Linked DNA regions of Homo sapiens: region 1 is linked to region 2. Evidence: promoter capture Hi-C in human tissues and cell types (Jung and others, 2019). All regions are on one chromosome and are shown on one strand. The core of a region is centred on a gene start or on the middle of the fragment in contact, and the rest is flanking DNA. Distances in the headings are between cores, read along the strand shown.

Region 1 (4,262 bases), core at 1,349-3,848, 160 kb after region 2:
GAGGAGAGATTAATGTTTTGTTTGTTTTGTTTTGTTGAAGCAGGGTCTCAGTCACCCAGGCTGGAGTGCAGTGGCGCAATCATCACTGCAGCCTCAACCTCTCGGGCTCAGGTGATCCTCCCACCTCAGCCTCCTGAGTAACTGGGACTACAGGCATGCCAGGCTAATTTTTGTATTTTTTGTAGAGACAGGGTTCCGCCATATTGCCCAGGCTGGTCTCAAATTCGTGGGCTCAAGTGATCCTCCTGCCTCAGCCTCTCAAAGTGGTGGGATAACAAAAGTTTTTTTTTTGCTTTTTAAAAAATTCAATGTTAGCAAGAGAATGATAAGTTTGGGAGCTTCATATGATGCTTTAGAAGTGTAAATTTCCTTTCTGATAAGCAGCTAAGCAAGCTATATCAGGAATGTAGCTTTTTGGTTGTTTTTTGAGATGGTCTTGCGTTGTTGCCCAGGCTTTGAGTGCAGTGGCATGATCATGGCTCACTGCAGCCTCAACCTCCCTGACTCAAGCGATCCTCCCACCTCAGCCTCCCAGGTAGCTGCGACTACAGGCACGCACCACTCCACTCGGCTAATTTTTTATTTTTTATTTTTGTAGAGACAGGGTCTTCCTATGTTGCCCAGGCCAGTCTCTGAACTCCTGGGCTCAAGTGATCCTTCTGCCTTGGCCACCCAAAGTGCTGGGATTATGGGCGTGAGCCACCATGCCAGGCTTGTAGCTTTATATCTTTAGCCCTTTCTCCTCTTGGGATCTACCATTAAGGAACAAGGCCTGTTTACCGCCATACCACCCTGAATGCGTCCAATCTCATGTGATCTTGAAAGAAAGAAGGCCAGACATGGTGGCTCACACCTATAATCCCAGCCTCCCAAGTAGCTGGGACTACAAGGCACCTACTGCTGCACTTAGCTTTATCTTTTAACTCATATTTTAAATGTCTTCTACAAGGCACAGAAAAATAAGTAGTTGTGTTCATTTTTAAGTAAATAGTAGTAAACAGTTTCAAATGCTGTTTGAGATGTTAATTAAGGCACACACTTAGACTAGTCCATTTGATTTGAAAATTAGGATTTTATTTGTGCTTTTTGTTAATTACTGGCTTTTAAAAGATCAGTAGTGGGGCAGAAACTAGACTAGTGGGTTGAAGGGTGAATAGGAAATAAGTAATACTTATTCTTTCAAGGAGCTTGACTGAAAAGGAGACAGTGGTAGTTTGAAGATATTGCTGTTTTTAAGATAAAAATGATTTCAGCACTTTAAAAATAAAAAGTTGGAAATGATCAATGAATCAAGGATCATCAAGAAAGAGGCAAGAGGAAGTAAGATTAAGCACAAAGAGTATCAACTGATAGGTGGCATTTCAAGGAACTTCAGGTGTTGAATATCTAAAGCACCAAATGCGTGTGGACAGCAGTGAAGATAAAGCTGGAAATGCGCCGGCAGACCAACACATGATGAGCCCTGTAGGTGGTGGACAAAGACTATGAGCAAGCCATTTAGGCAAACATCTGAAGAATTTAAAAATCAAAGGCAAACAAATAGGACTGTTTCATTAAGATCACTTGCATTCTAACAGGTTATGATGAATGGAAAGCTGATGGTTCCTGGTTGGAAAAAAGATAATTTTCAATTTGGACATGTCACATTTGAGATGCAGTTGACACACCCAAGATACATAATATATTGTCTTTCAAAATTCAGAAACCTAATAAACCATGATCTTAATAACCGCCACTCCATCTCCTGCTAGTTTTGGCGGGGGGGTAGGGGGTGGGAGGGCAGGGTACTTTATTTGACTCAGTTTTGATCTATTGCAGGGGCTATTTTGGAGTTCTGATTATCTATATATTCTTCTCCAGTTATATACTTTTTATTTTGTAAATTCAAATACCAAGACTATTTTGAATCTGGCTTAGCTAGGTATGAAAAGTGTACATTTCTATCATGTTAATATTGTACGAGTTTTAGTGTTTAGTGTTTGTGATTTACCTCTCATAGAGTGGTTTCTTAATTACTTCCAAACTTAACCAATATTAGCATAAGAATTTTAATTCTAATTTGAGAATTTCAATTCTACTCTGATGCTGTATTTTTATTTTTATTTTTGAGACACGGACTTGCTCTGTTGCCCAGGCAGGAGTGCAGTGGCACAATCACGGCTCACTGCAGCCTTGACCTCCTGGGCTCAAGAAATCCTCCCACCCTAGCCTCCCTGTAGCTACCACATGCACGACCATGCACCACCATGCCTGGCTTTTTTTTTTTTTTAGAGATGGGGTCTCACTTTGTTGCCCAGGCTGGTCTTGAATTGGGCTCAAGTAATCCTCATACCTCAGCCTCCCAGAGTGCTGGGATCACAGGTGTGGCCCAGCCCTGCCCAGCCCCTGATGCTGTATTTTCATAACACCATCCCAATCAATTAAACATTGAATTTCCAAATCAGGGATATACTAGGAAAAACAATCTTTTTATTCAGAGACATGACATTTTTCCAGATAAGGGCTGTCATGAATATAGACTGTACTGAAGTTTACCTCTTTTCTTTCAATTCCATGCTTAATTTTAGCCTGGCAAATGAGCTGAGTTAAAAAAAAATGCAACTGAAATATACCTGCATTTAAACAATTACATGCTTAAGAAAGAAAATGTCTAATACTCCACAAAATTATTCTTTTACTTACATCCATGCAGCTCTCAAAAATATAATCTAGTCAACTGGGGAGATGAAATATATACATACATATATATGTGTGTATATATACATGCACAATCTACTTTGTTAAATAAGCAGGAGACCATTGGTCTGAGGTTGTCTCCATAATCTGAGTTTCTACTTAAGAAACTGCAACTTAACTTAGTACATAACAAACTGAAAACTAATTTAAGAGTATAATAAACAACTGAGTCTCAGCCAATCCTAAACAGCTGAGCTTCTGCTATCACAGGCTACCAACTGATCAGACCATGTCCAAATAAGGCAGACTCACAGCTGTAACCAATCAAGCTATTTCTGCACAATAGTACCTTGGTATTTCCAGGGGATTGATTCCAGAACCCCTACAGATAGCAAAATCTTCAGATGTTCAAGGTCTTTATATAAAATGGTGTATGGCCGGTCGTGGTAGCTCATGGCTGTAATCCTAACACTTTGGGAGGCTGAGGCAAGCAGATCACTTGAGGTCAGGAGTTGAGACCAGTGAAAGGGGAGAGTTGCTTGATTCCCCTTGCAGGAGGCAGGATGTGCAACAGGGGTGTGGCTCCCTTGAGAAAGGGGGAGCATGCAGATGGGCAGGTGCAGAGGTCGGGGCCAGTGCTTCGGGCTCCAGCTCCACGGTAGTGTCTAGGAGTGGGTGCCTGCAACCCTAGTGTTATGAAGCTCTTTCAGCTTTGCCGTCTGCAGATGGCTTGAGTGTTAATCAGCTCAGTGGATCCTCTGCCTTATCACAAGGGCAGAGGGCCAGTGTGACAGCTTTCTGTATCCTGAGATCATGCCCAGTGTCCTGGAAGAATCGGATCACACGCGGCCTTGAAGGATGGATGCGAGGTTTTGTTGAGTGGTAGAGGCGGCTCTCAGCAAGATGGATGGGGAGCCAGAAAGGGAGATGGAGTGAGAAGGTGATCTTCTCCTGGAGCCAGGCTGCCCAGCCACCAGACTCTTCTCCAACCACCCCCATCTGAATTCCTTTTGATGTCCAGACGTTTCTCTTCTTTTCCCTTTCTCCTCCACGTTTTGTTCCACTACCCGTCTGCTTGCCTCCTTGTCTCCTCACTTGCTAATCTGCTCTGGAGTTTGAGGTTCAGGGGGTTATATGGGGACAGGATAGGGGTGTGGTGGGCCAAAAGGTGAAACAGGGTGTGAAAACAGAAATGCCTCTTCTTATTTAGGGCTGTGGGGGTATCTGTGCTTAAGGGTGGGGTTTTTGCCGGGGAACCATCCTCTTCTACCCAGCATTTCCCTGTCTCCTGTTCATATCAACAGCCTGGCCAACATGGCAAAACCCCATCTCTACTAAAAATACAAAAAAATTTAGCTGGGTGTGGTGGCAGGCACCTGTAGTCCCAGCTACTCAAGAGGCTGAGGCACGAGAATCACTTGGACCTGGGAGGCAGAGGTTGCAGTGAGCCGAGATCCTGCCACTGCACTGCACTCCAGCCTGGGCAACAGAGTGAGACTCTGTCTCAAAAAAAAAAAAAAAAAAAAAAGGCTGGGCATGGTGGCTCACGCCTGTAATCCCAGTACTTTGGGAGGCTGAGGCAGGTG
Region 2 (3,949 bases), core at 1,161-3,660:
TTGGAGGACTGAAAGTAATAATAGAAAAATTGCTAAACACATTAAAAACACAATGGGGCAAGGAGGAAGACAGGAATCTTTGTTTTTTTTTATTTATTTATTTTTTGAGACGGAGTCTCCCTTTGTCACCCAGGCTGAAGTGCAGTGGTGCAATCTCAGCTCCCTGCAATCTCTGCCTCCCGGGTTCAAGCAATTCTCATGCCTCAGCTTCCCAAGTAGTTTGGACTACAGGCGTGCACTACTATGCCTGGCTAATTTTTTTGTATTTTTAGTAGAGATGGGGTTTCAACATGTTGGCCAGGCTGGTCCAAAACTCCTGACCTCAGGTGATCTGACCAGCTCAGCCTCCCAAAGTGCTGGGATTACAGATGTGAGCCACCACCCCCGGCCCTGTTTTTTGTTTTGTTTTGTTTTGTTTTTCATTTTTTGAAACATAATCTCACTCTTTAACCCAGGCTAGAGTGCAGTGGCATGATTTTGGCTCACTGCAGCCTCAACCTTCCAGGGCTAAGGCGATCCTGCCACTTCAGCCTCCCAAGTAGCTGGGACTACAGGCGTGCACCACCACACCTGGCTAATTTCTCTATTTTTTGTAGAGACAGGGTTTTGCCATGTTGCCCACGCTGGTCTTGAATTGCTGAGCTCAAGCGATCCTCCTGCCTCAGCCTCCCAAAGTGCTGGGATTATAGGCGTAAGCCACAGCACCCAACCTAAAACAGGACATTTTAAAAAATACATAACAAATGGCAAAATACAACATATCAACACATATGTAATACGATTAAAGAGTACTGAGAGATGCCAGGCGCGGTGGCTCACACTTGTAATCCCAGCACTTAGGGAGGCTGAGGCGGGCGGTTCACGAGCTAACCTGGCTAACACGGTGAAACCCCGTCTCTACCAAAAATACAAAAAACTTAGCCGGGCATGGTGGCGGGCGCCTGTAGTCCCAGCTACTCAGGAGGCTGAGGCAGGAAAATGGCGTGAACCCGGGAGGCGGAGCTTGCAGTGAGCTGAGATGGAGATCGCGCCATTGCACTCCAGTCTAGGCGACAGAGTGAGACTCCGTCTCAAAAAATAAAATAAAAAGAGTACTGAGAGAAATGTATAGGTGCTAAATGATTGCATTAGAAATTGCAAAGGTCTCAATAAGTTCCTAACTCAAGACCCTAGAAAAAAAGAGCAAAATACAGTTAACCCTCAAACAACATGTGTTTGAACTGTGTAGGTCCACTTACACATGGATTTTCTTCCACCTCTTCCCTCCCCCTCACCCCAAGACAGGAAGATCAACCTCCCTTCTTCTTTCTCCTCCTCAGCTTACCTAACCTGATGATGACAAGGATGAACACTCTTAAGATAATCCACTTCCACTTAATGAATAGTAAATGTATTTTCTCTTCCTTATGATTTTAACATTTTTCTTAATTATAAAGATACAGTATGTAATACATAAACATATGTTAATTGTTTTGGTCAGTAGTAGGCTATTAGTACTTAAGTTTGGGGGAACTCAAAAGTTATACATGGATTTTCAGATGTGAAAGGGTTCAGCAACCCTAACCCCCCGCATTGTTCAAAGGTCAATTGTATAACTCACACATGCTGAAGTAAATTCAAAATTGTACAGCCACTTTGGAAACCAGTTTGACAGTTTCTCATAAAAAATGAACACTTAATACCTGACCCGGTGATTGGGAAAAGGCTTAATGAAATTCTAACAGTGAACTGGACGATAGAAGAGGTCAGGACAAGAGTGGCCATGTCGGTGCTGAGGCTGAGATACCTACCGAGGACTGTCACTCTCACGGCTTCCAGCCCTTCGACGAACTCTCAGGTGTGTGGCCTTCTGGCCAGGCTTCTGCCGCGTCACGTTGTTGAAGCATTCGTTGTATCCCTGGGGTTGCAGCTCTCTGTAAGTTTGCTGTGGCTGAACCAGGCAAGGCATAGGCGGATTTCTACAGAAATTATGATTCCACGAAAGATTTTGAGAAGAGGAAGGCTGGTATCTTTCAGAGTGCAGAGTGATTTTGCACTCTAAAGAATCTCTTTGGGTGTAATAGCATGGAAGTTTGTCGCTGACCTGTGTCCCTGAACTATGACACACGAATATGTGGGCTTAGAAATAGTTTTGCTTGATACATTGAGAACAACAAAGAAGACTGAGTGGCGCTACCTTCTTTGGTGCCCAGGATGGTTTGGGAAAGTCTCGCCTTCATCCTCCCCCACAGTTTTGCGATTTTGAAACGGGATCTCGCTCTCCGCGGAAGACAGCCAAGCTCTGCACCCCGGCCTGGCCCGCCGCACCCCGCAGGCCCGGCTCTCCCCTGCGCGCTCCGGGCTGGGCGCGGCGCGTGTGCGGAGCCGCCGCGGTGACACGGAACGCCGGCCGCCCCGGGCCGGGGGAGGCGCGCGTCGAGAGGCGACGGCGGGCTGGCCTGGCGCGCTGCGGCGCTCGCTCACCCGCTCCCGAGGAAGGGCAGTGGGCCCCGCCGCCGCCTCCCAATGGCGAGGCTGCGGGATTGCCTGCCCCGCCTGATGCTCACGCTCCGGTCCCTGCTCTTCTGGTCCCTGGTCTACTGCTACTGCGGGCTCTGCGCCTCCATCCACCTGCTCAAACTTTTGTGGAGCCTCGGCAAGGGGCCGGCGCAGACCTTCCGGCGGCCCGCCCGGGAGCACCCTCCCGCGTGCCTGAGCGACCCCTCCTTGGGCACCCACTGCTACGTGCGGATCAAGGTGAAGGGCCGCGCGGGCCTGGCGGGAGCGGGAGGGAGCGTGACCGCCGCGAGGGTGGGGGGCTCCGGGCTTCTCCTTCCGAGACGCTGGCTCAGCGTCCCCTAGTGTCCTGGCAGGAGGGGAGGAGGGGTTGGGTCCCTGTGTGTCGTGTGTGTGTGTGTGTGTGTGTGTGTGTGAGAGAGAGAGAGAGAGAGAGAGATACAGATAAACAGCACTCGGTCTTTGCAGGCACCTTGATTGGTTTCTGAATGTGGAACTTCTCTAATCAGGGGCCTCTTATATTACTGCCCCCCGGCGCCACAACAACCCAGAATAAACCTGCTCTTTTTCCTACTGCAAGGGGAAGCTGTCTCCTGTCACCCTTTTGCCCTTTAGAGCTCAGATCAGCTGTAGAGAATTGTTCCTCGTGGCATCCTAATGTCTCAGGAGGCTGTTCTTGCCCAATTTTAGAGATAATAAGAGTAAACAGTCAGTCTTTGGGAGTCATGAGTTTATTATGATCACAGACGACTTAGGTTGCATGAAACAATAAGTAAATTGTGTGTGTTGTGGGGAGGAATGCATACTTATGAAGTCAGGGACCAAAGAAAGGAATGGAATAAAAGGTAAATCCAGCCATGCCTGCAGACGCTAATTGTTCAAGCTTCCTCACAGCCCACAAATATTCTGTTTCCTGAGGCTCCAGGTGGTGAAGGGAAATAGTTCCCGTGATACACCCTGCAGTCTGACTCACAGGCCTTTCAAACCCAGCCTCATAAGAGGGGATGTTTATGTCACCAAGTCCTTATTTCCTGTTAGGAGCTAAATTGCCCCGCAGCTGAAGTTCAGAAGGGCAAGAGAACTTCTTTCTTGCCTGGGGTCGACATGAGAATTAAATAGGTTAATATTTATAAAAACAAACACGAAAAACTTAGAACAATGCCTGATGCATAGTCAGTGCAATAAAGTATCTGTTAATTAAATCCATTGCAGTGCCCATAACATTTAATCCTCCAAGACTCACCACCAATAAAAAAAGTTATTGAACCTCTAGGAAGCCATCGTGCAGCTGAGGGTAAAGTCAGATTTGTTATCTCTGTTCAACCTGAGGGGTAAAAGTAGTATAAGAACCATCTGGAATTCCATAAAACACTTTTCCCCTCGCTCTGGCCGCCTAAAGAGCTTCCCCAGAGACAGAGAACCGAGTGGAAAGAGCATTGTCCTGGGAGTTAGG

The links. Contacts are between HindIII fragments. The study calls those that stand out against the background at their distance.
Region 1: a contact is called between a fragment that was not itself captured here and the fragment with the promoter of EPHX4 in region 2, in 1 of the 25 tissues and cell types used here (dorsolateral prefrontal cortex).

The regions. Positions count from the first base shown.
Region 1 is chr1:92,188,979-92,193,240 of GRCh38, forward strand. No RefSeq gene overlaps it. Among named protein-coding and RNA genes, the nearest start is that of C1orf146, 27 kb to the right of the region's middle. The HindIII fragment of the contact is 9,202 bases long and covers 1-4,262 here.
Region 2 is chr1:92,027,575-92,031,523 of GRCh38, forward strand. EPHX4 (epoxide hydrolase 4) reads left to right here and starts at 2,411. Exons shown (of 7, transcript NM_173567.5): 1 at 2,411-2,736. The coding sequence starts at 2,506. LOC124904218 (a long non-coding RNA gene) reads right to left here and starts at 2,813. Exons shown (of 2, transcript XR_007066222.1): 1 at 1,791-2,813. RefSeq lists an enhancer at 2,110-2,611. The HindIII fragment of the contact is 17,230 bases long and covers 1-3,949 here.